Linked DNA regions of Homo sapiens: regions 1 and 2 are each linked to region 3. Evidence: promoter capture Hi-C in 16 types of primary human blood cells and fetal thymus (Javierre and others, 2016). All regions are on one chromosome and are shown on one strand. The core of a region is centred on a gene start or on the middle of the fragment in contact, and the rest is flanking DNA. Distances in the headings are between cores, read along the strand shown.

Region 1 (3,351 bases), core at 631-3,130, 380 kb before region 3:
TGCTACCAGAAGGTTTGCTGAGGGCAATGACTCCCTGGTGCTGTGCTCCTTGAGGTTATCTACAGGAACATCTGGAGACTACTGTTCAAAGAATGCAGTCATGCAAGCCTGCACTAAGCCAAGCAGCTGACTGACAACTACCCCCTTCTCCCTATCTCCTTTACTCAATAAATACAAAGGGCTATAGAAGCTCAGGGCCCTTCTTCACTAGAAGCAAGGAGCCTCCTGACCCCTTCTTCCAAAATACTCTTTTGTCTTTGTCTTTATTCCCACATTCATCTTCTTTTGTTAAGTCCACCAAGGACTGTGGCATTTTAACTTCTTCTTCTTTTTTTTTTTTTACTTTGTGACAGAGTTTTGCTCTGTCGCCAGGCTGGAGTGCAGTGGCACAATCTCAGCTCACTGCAACCTCTGCCTCCTGGGTTCAAGTGATTCTCCTGCCTCAGCCTCCCAAGTAGCTGGGACCACAGGTGCATACCACCTCACCCAGCTAATTTTTGTATTTTTAGTAGAGACGGGGTGTCACCATGTTGGCCAGGATGATCTCGATCCCTTGACCTAGTGATCTTCCTGCCTTGGCCTCCAAAAGTGCTGGGATAGCAGGCGTGAGCCACTGCACCCAATTAGGTGTTTTAAATTCTCTATGTGAAATCAGAGTGACTGATGACAACCTTGACCACTGTGTGTGTTGCATAGTTACACTTCAGTTTTCTGGCATTGTTGGGCAATCCATAGTTTTCATAGAAATCAATTTTCTCTCAACTGGAATTTAAACTTTCAGGATCAGTGTGTTTTTCAAATCAACACATCTACTCATTAAATTATATAAATAACACATTATTTTAAAAAGGGACAGAAAATTATTTGAAAAGTAAAAGGTAACTCTTCCCTATGGTTCTTTTACCTTCTTCCCATATAGCTCTTGGCTTTGTGTATCCTTCCAGAAGTTTCCTGTACATTTACATGCATTTTTCTTTTAAAAATTTTTTCCACAATTGAAATGACACTATACATACTGTCCTTCAAATTTCTTTTCTTTTCTTTCTTCTATGCTCCAATCCCCACTTTTTAATTTCTTTTTTTAAATAATTATACTTTAAGTTCTGAGATACACTTGCAGAATGTGCAGGTTTGTTACACAAGTGTACATGTGCCATGGTGGTTTTCTGCACCCATCAACCCATCATCTACATTAAGTATTTCTCCTAATGCTATCCCTCCCCTAGCCCCCCACCCCCCTGAAAAGGCCATGGTGTGTGATATTGCCCTCCCTGTGTCCATGTGTTCTCATTGTTCAACTTCCACTTATGAGTGAGAACGTGCAGTGTTTGGTTTTCTGTTCTTTCATTAGTTTGCTGAGAATGACGGTTTCCAGCTTCATCCAGGTCTTTGCAAAGGACATGAACTCATCATTTTTTATGGCTGCATAATATTCCATGGTGTATATGTGCCACATTTTCTTTTTCCAGTCTATCATTGATGGGCATTTGGGTTGGTCCAAGGTTTTTCTATTGTGAACAGTGCTGCAATAAACATATATATGCATGTGTCTTTATAGTAGAATGATTTATAATCCTTTGGATATATACCCTGTAATGGGATTGCTGGGTCAAATGGTATTTGTAGTTCTAGATCCTTGTGGAATGGCCACACTGTCTTCCACAATGGTTGAACTAATTTACACTCCCACCAACAGTATAAAAGCGTTCCTATTTCTCCACATCCTCTCCAGCATCTGTTGTTTCCTGACATTTTAATGATTGCCATTCTAACTGGTGTGAGATGGTATCTCATTGTGGTTTTGATTTGCATTTTTCTAATGAGCAGTGATGATGAGCATTTTTTCATGTTTCTTGGCTGCATAAATGTTTTCTTTTGAGAAGTATCTGTTCACATTCTTAGCCCACTTTTTGATGGTTTTTTTTTCTTGTAAATTTAAGTTTTTTGTACATTCTGGATATTAGCCCTTTGTCAGATAGATAGATTGCAAAAATTTTCTCACATTCTGTAGGTTCTCTGTTCACTCTAATTATAGTTTCTTTTGGTGTACAGAAGCTCTTTAGTTTAATTAAGTCCCATTTGTCTATTCTGGCTTTTTTTGCTGTTGCTTTGGGTATTTTAGTCGTGAAGTCTTTGCTCATGCCTATGTCCTGAATGGTATGTCCTAGGTTTTCCTCTAGGGTTTTTATGGTTTTAGGTCTTATGTTTAAGTCTTTAATCCATCTTGAGTTAATTTTTTTATAAGGTGTAAGGAAGGGGTCCAGTTTCAGTTTTCTGCATATGGCTAGCCAGTTTTCCCAACACCATTTATTAAATAGGAAATCTTTTCCTTATTGCTTGTTTTTGTTAGGTTTGTCAAAGATCAGATGGTTGTAGATGTGTGGTGTTGTTTCTGAGGCCTCTGTTCTGTTCCATTGGTCTAGATATCTGTTTTGGTACCAGTACCATGCTGTTTTGGTTACTGTAGCCTTGCCGTATAGTTTGAAGTGAGGTAGCATCATGCGTCCAGCTTTGTTCTTTTTGCTTAGGATTGTCTTCATTATATTGGCTCTTTTTTGGTTCCATATAAAATTCAAAGTAGTTTTTTCCAATTCTGTGAAGAAAGTCAATGGTAGCTTGATGGGGATAGCATTGAATCTATAAATTACTTTGGGCAGTATGGCCATTTTCACGATATTGATTCTTCCTATCCATGGGCATGGAATGTTTTTCCATTTGTTTGTGTCCTCACTTATTTCCTCGAGCAGTGTCTGTATTTCTCCTTGAAGAGGTCCTTCACATCCCTTGTAAGTTGGATTCCTAGGTATTTTATTCTCTTTGTAGCAATTGTGAATGGGAGTTCACTCATGATTTGGCTCTCTATTGTCTGTTATTGGCGTATAGGAATGCTTGTCATTTTTGCACATTGATTTTGTATCCTGAGACTTTGCTGAAGTTGCTTATCAGCTTAAGGAGATTTTGGGCTGAGACGATAAGGTTTTCTAAATATACAATCATGTCATCTGCAAACAGAGACAATTTTACTTCCTCTCTTCCTGTTTGAATACCTTTTATTTCTTTCTCTTTCCTGATTGCCCTAGCCAGAACTTCCAATACTATGTTGAATAGGAGTTGTAGTTGTGAGAGGGCATCCTTGTCTCGTGCCTTTTTTCAAAGGGAATGCTTCCAGTTTTTGCCCATGCAGTATGATACTGGCTGTGGCTTTGTCATAAATAGCTCTTATTATTTAGAGATACATCCCATCAATACCTAGTTTATTGAGAGTTTTTAGCATGAAGGGGTGTTCAATTTTATCGAAGGCCTTTCTGTATCTAAATAATTAATCATGTGGTTTTTATCATTGGTTCTGTT
Region 2 (3,752 bases), core at 393-2,892, 260 kb after region 3:
TAAAAAGTCCCTGACAACATTCCCCTGCAGGCACTCCTTGGGTGTGTATTCTGTCCTCTGCTTGGGACCATGAGCCCATCCAGTGTTGACTGCATGGCAGCCCTGGAGTGCAGAGTCCAGGCATCTCTCAATCTAATTCCATCCAGACGGGGAGACTCAGCCCCGTACCTCATTCCCAACATAGCTGCCTCAGCCTCCAATCAGAGCCCCCATCTTCCCCCTGGAGACCAGCTTTGCAGAAGGATGTGCAGAGCGGCAATTGAGAAGCTTCTTACCCAGCCCCCACTGCTGTGGATCCAGTCAGCCAGCTGCGTCTCCAGGTAGGCCACCATCCACTCCTGCACTTGTCCCACCAGTGGTTCCATCTCCTTGTTGACACTCTCAGCACACAGTGCAGCCCCAAAGACAAAGAAGGCTACAAGGCGGCCCCAGTTGGGGCCCCCTTGAAAAAGTTCATCGGAGACCTGGGTGAAGCGTTGTTGGGCTGAGCCTGGGGTCACATGCAGCTGAGCCGCCAGATCAGAGAAGGTGCGCCGGAAGCGGGTCTCGAACTCATCTCCAGCTGCCCGCATGGCTTGGTGCAGCGGGTCAGCTGCTGGGCCCTCCCCGGGGCCAGCTCCACAGACATAACCCTTCTGCCTCAGCTTATAACCTACAAAGTCTGCCACCAGAGCCCGTGTGTCTGGGGCCGAGGCTGGGGTCGCCATCCGGGCGGCTATAAGAGGCAAGGATGAAAGACTGGCATGAATATATGAAGAGAGAATCAGAAGGAGCACTTCTGGTTTGACCAACCCAGTGAGATGAGGAGGAGAGAGGAAATGCTCAGGACTCACTGGACAGGGAGAGGCAAGAACAAGGGAATTAAGTCATGATATGAGACTAGGCTGTGAGTGGCTGGCCATTACATTCCTAATATGCCAAATTAAATGTAAAACAAGTAAATTTTCTGTTTAGGATACTTTAGATTCTTTTCACAATAAGACAACGTCAGCTCAATGACACCCCTACAACACCCCCACCCCCGGGTCTCCTTAGTCCACACCTTCTTGGCTAGAGGAAGGGTCTTAGGACCTCCCCAAATGCAAGATGTAAAGATGTTGGCAGAGACACAAGATGAGGGGGAGCAGATGGGCTGAAGAGAAAGGTGGGAGACGCAATGGGTTACTCCAGACAGAGAAAGGAAGGAGACACTCACCCAGCCGGGATGGCAGCTCTTAAGACACAGCACTGGTGGCAAGGAGCCCCCAGCTGGGGCCTTTCATCCTCCTGGCCAGCGTGGAGCCCTGGAAAGGGGAGGGGGAGATCAGAACCAGGAGGGGAAGGCCAGGGATCAGGTTCTGGCCTGGGAAGGGCTAGGGTTGCAGCTCTGGGCCTAGGCCCCTGCCCCCAACGCTCTACCAGCTGTGTGGCCGAATCCATGTTTAATGACTGTCCTCCCGGGAAACCCAAGGCCAAGGGCTTCCTGCCGACACCATCTCTATTCCCGGTTCCCCCTAGTGCAGCCCAAAGGCCCAGCTCCTCCCTTACCCCCACCTCAGCCAGTCTCCAACCCCGCCCGCCTGCCAGGTTAGGGATCTCACGGGTCAGGCCGCTGCCGGGATCCGGGCCGTTTCCTGGTGCAGGAGCTGGGAGGGAGGGAGAGAGGGAGGAAGGGAGGGAAGGAAGGAGGGAGGAGAAAGGGGGGGGCAGAGGGAGGGCCCGGCGCCGGGTGATGATGGGGCCCAGAGATGCGTCCAGAGAGAGGGGCGGGGCTGGGACGCAGGCCTGCAAAGGGCCACTACTCAGGAAGAGGGAGGGCTGCTGAAGGCAAAGAAGGGCTGGCTGAGAGGGCACGGTGGGCTGGGCTGGGCTGGGCTCCTGAGCCTCTAGGCTGCCCAGAGAAATATGCCGGACTTCGGGACATCTCGGGGCAAATTTAGCATTTTCAGGAGGTTTCCGATGTTCCATGCACTTGTTGAACTTTTCCAGCCCTGAACTGTGTGCCTGGAAAACAGGAGCAGTTCCCATTAAGCTGGGAACCGTCTACCAGGTGCCTTACCCTTATGGGGCTAGCAGACACCACATAGACACCAAACCTTTCCCATCTTTTCTCCAGGACCTTTAACCCAGTGTTCTCTTTGTGGGCTGGGCTTCAGCCAGGCATTAGGGAGCCAGGACTTGGATCACAAGCAGTTTCTCTCGGTACTTTTCTTTAATTCATCTTCTTTTGTAATTAGATTGATTTTAGTGGGGTTTTTTTCTTTTTCTTTTTTTTACCCAACACACAAACTCATTCTCATTATGAAAAAAATCAAACAATAAAGACGTGCGGAGTAATAAAATACAGGTTCTCAAACACACACACACATACACACCCAATTCCACTTCCCTCCCTGCAGGTTGCCAGTGTTAAGCTTGATGTTTATCCTTCCAGATTACATATATATGGGGCCATTATTTATACATGGCAGTATATTTATACAGGGCAGGTCACAGGCGTGAAGCAGTCTGACCATAGCTGATCCACATGAGGGCACTCACAGCCAGCCCCCTGGGCTCTTGGATCTGGCACTTTTTTAAAGAGTGCCCCAACCAAAGGCCAGAAAGAGGCAACCTAATTCTCCTATTCTGCTAGCTCCCTTTGCTTCTACCTCCAATCCAAGCCTCTGTATTACCATCTTCCCTTATGGTCACTGGAGAAGCAAGGTCTTTTCTGCAGCAATAACAGTAACAACTAGCTGGGTTCGGTGGCTCATACCTGTAATCCCAACACTTTGGGAGGCCAAGGCGGGTGGATCACTTGAGGCCAGGAGTTCGAGACCAGCCTGACCAACATGGCAAAACCCCATCTCTACTAAAAATACAAAAATTAGCCAGACGTAAAATACAAAAATTAGCCAGCCTGTAATCCCAGCTGCTCAGGAGGCTGAGGCATGAGAATCACTTGAACCCAGGAGGCTGAGATCATGCCACTGCACTCCAGACTGGGTGATAGAACGAGACTCTATCTCAAAAAAAAAAAAAGGTAAAAACTAACATATTTTGAGGAGTTATTAGATGCTGTGCTTTTTTTACATGTGTATTTTTTCCTCTCACCAGTCCTTATGCTGTTTTATCCTCATTCTATGAATGAGGAAATTGAGGTTTGGAGAGGTTAAGTGATTTTCCCAAAGCCATAGGCTGATATGTAAGAAGCTAGCACAGCCATCTCATGCTGTAACTTTGACACTATCGCTTCAAGATCACCTCTTGCCTTCACATAGTCAATATGGTTCTCATAGTCTGAATCCACACCATTTACAAGTCCATACTCAATTCTCTCCTCTATTCTAAACACACAGCCTATTACACTCCTTTATGGCTGTATCCTTTCAACCATCCTCATTTCATTTTTGCTCTTAGCCTGATCATTCTGGCTGCCACCAGCAAGGTTGCCCTCTTCTTTAGAGAATAACCTAGTCCAAGTCTTCATTTGCACTCCTGGTTTATTTGTTTGTTTGTGATACAAGGTTCTCACTCCATGGCCTAAACTGGAGTGCAGTGGTACAAGCACAGTTCACTTCAGCTTCCACCGTCTAGGCTCAAGCAATCTTCCCACTTCAGCCTCCCTGGTAGCTGGGACTAGAGGTGTACTGCACCATGCTTGGTTAAATTCATTTTTTATAGAGATAGGGATCTCATTATGTTGCCCAGACTGATCTCAAACTCCTGGGCCAGCTTGATTGTAACATAAATTAATGTATGATTTATTAGACATTAATTTATATGCATTA
Region 3 (3,307 bases), core at 184-2,683:
TGAATGGAGAGGAGGAAGAAAATGAAGAAGGAGTGATTGAATGTCGGGCAAGGCACTGGCTGAGCTGCTGTGGCTCCCTAGCCTAAGGGGCCTGCTGTCCCTCTGAGGCCTAGTGAAAAAGCTGCAGGAGGTGCATCCTCCACCTCTAATCTTGGAGGCTATTATCTTACCTCCAAGCACTGAGCTGGGTTACTGCCCAATTCCATCCTTCCCTGAAGGAGAGAAGGGAAGTGAAAAGTAGAGTAACTCCCCAGCATTTCCCTCTTTTTCTCCTCATCGGCCAGCCCCTCCTCCAGCCCCCTCTGGTGGCATGCCATGCCAAGAGCAACGTGTAAAGGAACAGAGAATATCCAATGCAGTCAAGTCCACCCTGCCCAGACTTTGCCACTGACTTCTCCCACCCTTCTGTCTCCCCCATAATAGTTTATTTGGTTGGTCTGGACTCACTTGTGGCCTTTGATTAAATTCCTAAGGGGCCTGAAGAAGACATTTCTACTGCAGAGGGTTAGAGGCACTTGAGCAAGGCCCCCACATCCCAACTCTGGGAGTTGTGGTGGGAGGAGGCACTTCTGGGGGATAGGACCAGACAAGATAACAGGAGCTCACATGGAAGCAGAAGCTGTGACAAGTTTAGTAGTCCCAAAATGGGTTATATCCCTTCCCCCTTTACATCAGAATCTTGTGAAATGGGAAAACAACAGAAGGAGGGGATCAAAGATAGCTGATCTCACATGCTTCCCAGGCAGGGCAGAGGTGGGAGTCAAACCCGGGTGACAGGTGGGTGGAGAGCCCTGTTTGAGGTTGTGGCTGATCCCTCTCTGGTATTAGTTTTTCCCCTGGGAGCAGGAAGCCCTAGGAAGAGGGGACTGCAGGGTCCCCAGGGGATCTTTCCTCCCTCCCCTGCATGAGGCAGAGGCAAGCTGCCTGCCAACCCCCTCCCTCAAGGAATGGCCTTGCCCAGGAATGCCCACCACACATACCCTCTTCTTTTTTTCTAGTCAAACTCTTGTTTATTCCTTGGCTTGCCTCCCTCCTTCCTCCCCTCTCAACCTTTACTTCTGATTTCTATTTCATGGAATTTGGGATTGAAGTTAAACTACAACAGTGCCGCCAACACCAAGTCTTGCAGGAAAAAAATACAAAGAAATTTAACAAAAAAAATATATTAATAAAAAAGTTCAAAAAAGGGGGGGGATTGTCATCTCCTTTGGGGTGCGATGGCTTCAAATCCAAACTGAGGCTCTCCGGGTGGTAAGGATGTGCGAGGAGGCCTCTTGAAGAACTCCAGGCCTATCATGCTGTCTCTCCGCTAAAGCCTGAGGCCCGAGGTCAGAGGATTCAGGAAGGCTCTGCAGTCGGCCCAGGAGGGCGGGGTCCCGTGGTGGAGGCGGGGAGAGGGAAGGACCGCACGGAGCACCAACCCCTGCTCGGCCCCGTACCAGGAAGCGCTGGGGGGCAGAGGAGCGGAGTTGAGGCAGAAGCCAGGTGAGGCTGGAGTCCTGGGGTAGGCAGGCTGTCGCTGCCGCTGCCGCTGCCTGAGATGGAAATCGGGGGAGGAAGCTCGCGGAAGAAACAGCGGAGGGTCGTGGAAAAAAAAGCAATGGCTGAGCTAGGGATGGGGTACCAGGTAGGGGGAGGAAACGGTAGAGAGAAATAGGTGGGGCTCCCGCGCATGCTCAATAGGAAGGGGCGCCGGTGGGGTGCGGACGCATGCGTAGTGGGCTTCTCGGGCGGTGGGGTGGGCGCGGAATTTGGAGACCCACTTCGGGAAAGGTAAAATGCGGGCGCAATTTTAGGGTACCTGTGGGACCCGGGCTCTTAGGGTCTTGACACAGGACGGGCCTGGGCCGAAAGCCCAGGCACGCCCGACCAGAGAGTGTTTCTCCACTCCCGGACTCTGCCAGTCAGGATGGTGGTGCCTTCGCTGAAGCTTCAGGACCTCATCGAAGAGATTCGCGGGGCCAAGACTCAGGCCCAGGAGCGGGAGGTGATCCAAAAGGAGTGTGCCCACATCCGGGCCTCCTTCCGCGACGGGGACCCAGTGCACAGGCACCGGCAGCTGGCCAAACTGCTCTACGTCCACATGTTGGGCTACCCCGCCCACTTTGGACAGGTACTGGCCAGGAATACCTCCCTCCTGAGCTTGATGAAGGCTAGTGGGGCAGAGTCCCAGACTCTCTCACCTGTTTATGCCCTGGTTTTTTAAATTCTACAATTTCAGAGTCTTCACAGCCTGCACTGCAAACCTCTTTCCCCATTGCTACCCCTACTGGTCATCAGCTGGCCTGAACCCTTCATTCTCTGGCCAGCCTCCTTTAGGGCAGGCATCTCCTCCTCTCCGCTCCCATCCTCCTCAACTCCTAGTTCCTCCTACCCACTAACGCCTGAATTTCCTAAGCTTCTCCTCTTGTTGAAGGGAGAGTGATGAGATATGATGCCCCACAGGTTAATCTGGTTTTAAAGAGGAAGATGGAACAGGGATGTGAGTGTCTATGGTTTCACCCCTGCCTCTTCCTGGTCTGCCCCCTTCACTATAGATGGAGTGCCTGAAACTGATCGCCTCCTCCAGATTCACAGACAAGAGGGTGGGCTACCTGGGGGCCATGCTTCTATTGGATGAGAGGCACGATGCCCACCTGCTCATTACCAACAGCATCAAGAAGTGAGAGGGTTCTGGCAATCACTTGGAATCAGGGAGATGGGAGAGTAGGGACCTTGGAAATCCCAGGGGACTGCCTGTTGTGGGTATTGAAAAGGACTGATTTTCTCAGAGGTTTGACTGACCGTCCTCCCAAACCCTGCAGTGACCTGAGCCAGGGGATTCAGCCAGTACAAGGCCTGGCCTTGTGCACTTTGAGCACCATGGGCTCTGCTGAGATGTGCCGAGACCTGGCCCCAGAGGTGGAGAAACTGCTCCTGCAGCCCAGTCCCTACGTGCGCAAGAAGGTGAGATGGCGGGACTCCTGGCACGTGCTCCTGCACACTGCCTGCTGCGTGCTATATAGTAGTAGATGCAGGGGTCCATCTCCTCTGACCCCTGTCTGAGGCCCCTGACCTCTGCAGGCTATTCTGACTGCAGTGCACATGATCCGGAAGGTCCCTGAACTCTCCAGTGTCTTCCTCCCACCCTGTGCCCAACTGCTTCATGAGCGTCACCATGGTAAGGCTGTGGGGCCCCCCATCCTTTGCTTCAGGTCTATGGACAGAAGAATTGAAAATCGGATGGGAACCCCAGCTCACAGGAGAAGGGTAGTGCACACACACAGGCACACACGCAATAGACTCTCTTGCCCCTGGCCCCCACCAT

Evidence for each region. Contacts are between HindIII fragments. The CHiCAGO score rates a contact against its expected background, and 5 or more counts as called.
Region 1: a contact is called between a fragment that was not itself captured here and the fragment with the promoter of AP1G2 in region 3, in 1 of 17 cell types (total CD8 T cells). The highest score is 5.4, in total CD8 T cells.
Region 2: a contact is called between the fragment with the promoter of BCL2L2 here and the fragment with the promoter of AP1G2 in region 3, in 2 of 17 cell types (megakaryocytes and erythroblasts). The highest score is 6.2, in megakaryocytes.

The regions. Positions count from the first base shown.
Region 1 is chr14:23,947,334-23,950,684 of GRCh38, reverse strand. The region is part of intron 1 of DHRS4-AS1 (DHRS4 antisense RNA 1); the gene reads left to right. Among named protein-coding and RNA genes, the nearest start is that of DHRS4, 4.8 kb to the left of the region's middle. The HindIII fragment of the contact is 7,541 bases long and covers 1-3,351 here.
Region 2 is chr14:23,304,723-23,308,474 of GRCh38, reverse strand. BCL2L2 (BCL2 like 2) reads right to left here and starts at 1,642. Exons shown (of 4, transcript NM_004050.5): 1 at 1,581-1,642; 2 at 1,196-1,283; 3 at 276-715. The coding sequence starts at 707. It overlaps BCL2L2-PABPN1 (BCL2L2-PABPN1 readthrough), which reads right to left and starts at 1,642. Exons shown (of 8, transcript NM_001387346.1): 1 at 1,581-1,642; 2 at 1,196-1,283; 3 at 276-715. The coding sequence starts at 707. RefSeq lists an enhancer at 1-783. The HindIII fragment of the contact is 2,126 bases long and covers 270-2,395 here.
Region 3 is chr14:23,565,917-23,569,223 of GRCh38, reverse strand. AP1G2 (adaptor related protein complex 1 subunit gamma 2) reads left to right here and starts at 1,433. Exons shown (of 22, transcript NM_003917.5): 1 at 1,433-1,485; 2 at 1,905-2,113; 3 at 2,538-2,662; 4 at 2,805-2,946; 5 at 3,064-3,160. The coding sequence starts at 1,910. JPH4 (junctophilin 4) reads left to right here. Exons shown (of 6, transcript NM_001146028.2): 6 at 1-1,186. It overlaps AP1G2-AS1 (AP1G2 antisense RNA 1), which reads right to left. Exons shown (of 4, transcript NR_110555.1): 3 at 1,802-3,307; 4 at 1,148-1,535. RefSeq lists silencers at 242-341, 1,331-1,380 and enhancers at 1,861-2,100, 2,131-2,220. The HindIII fragment of the contact is 3,957 bases long and covers 1-1,932 here.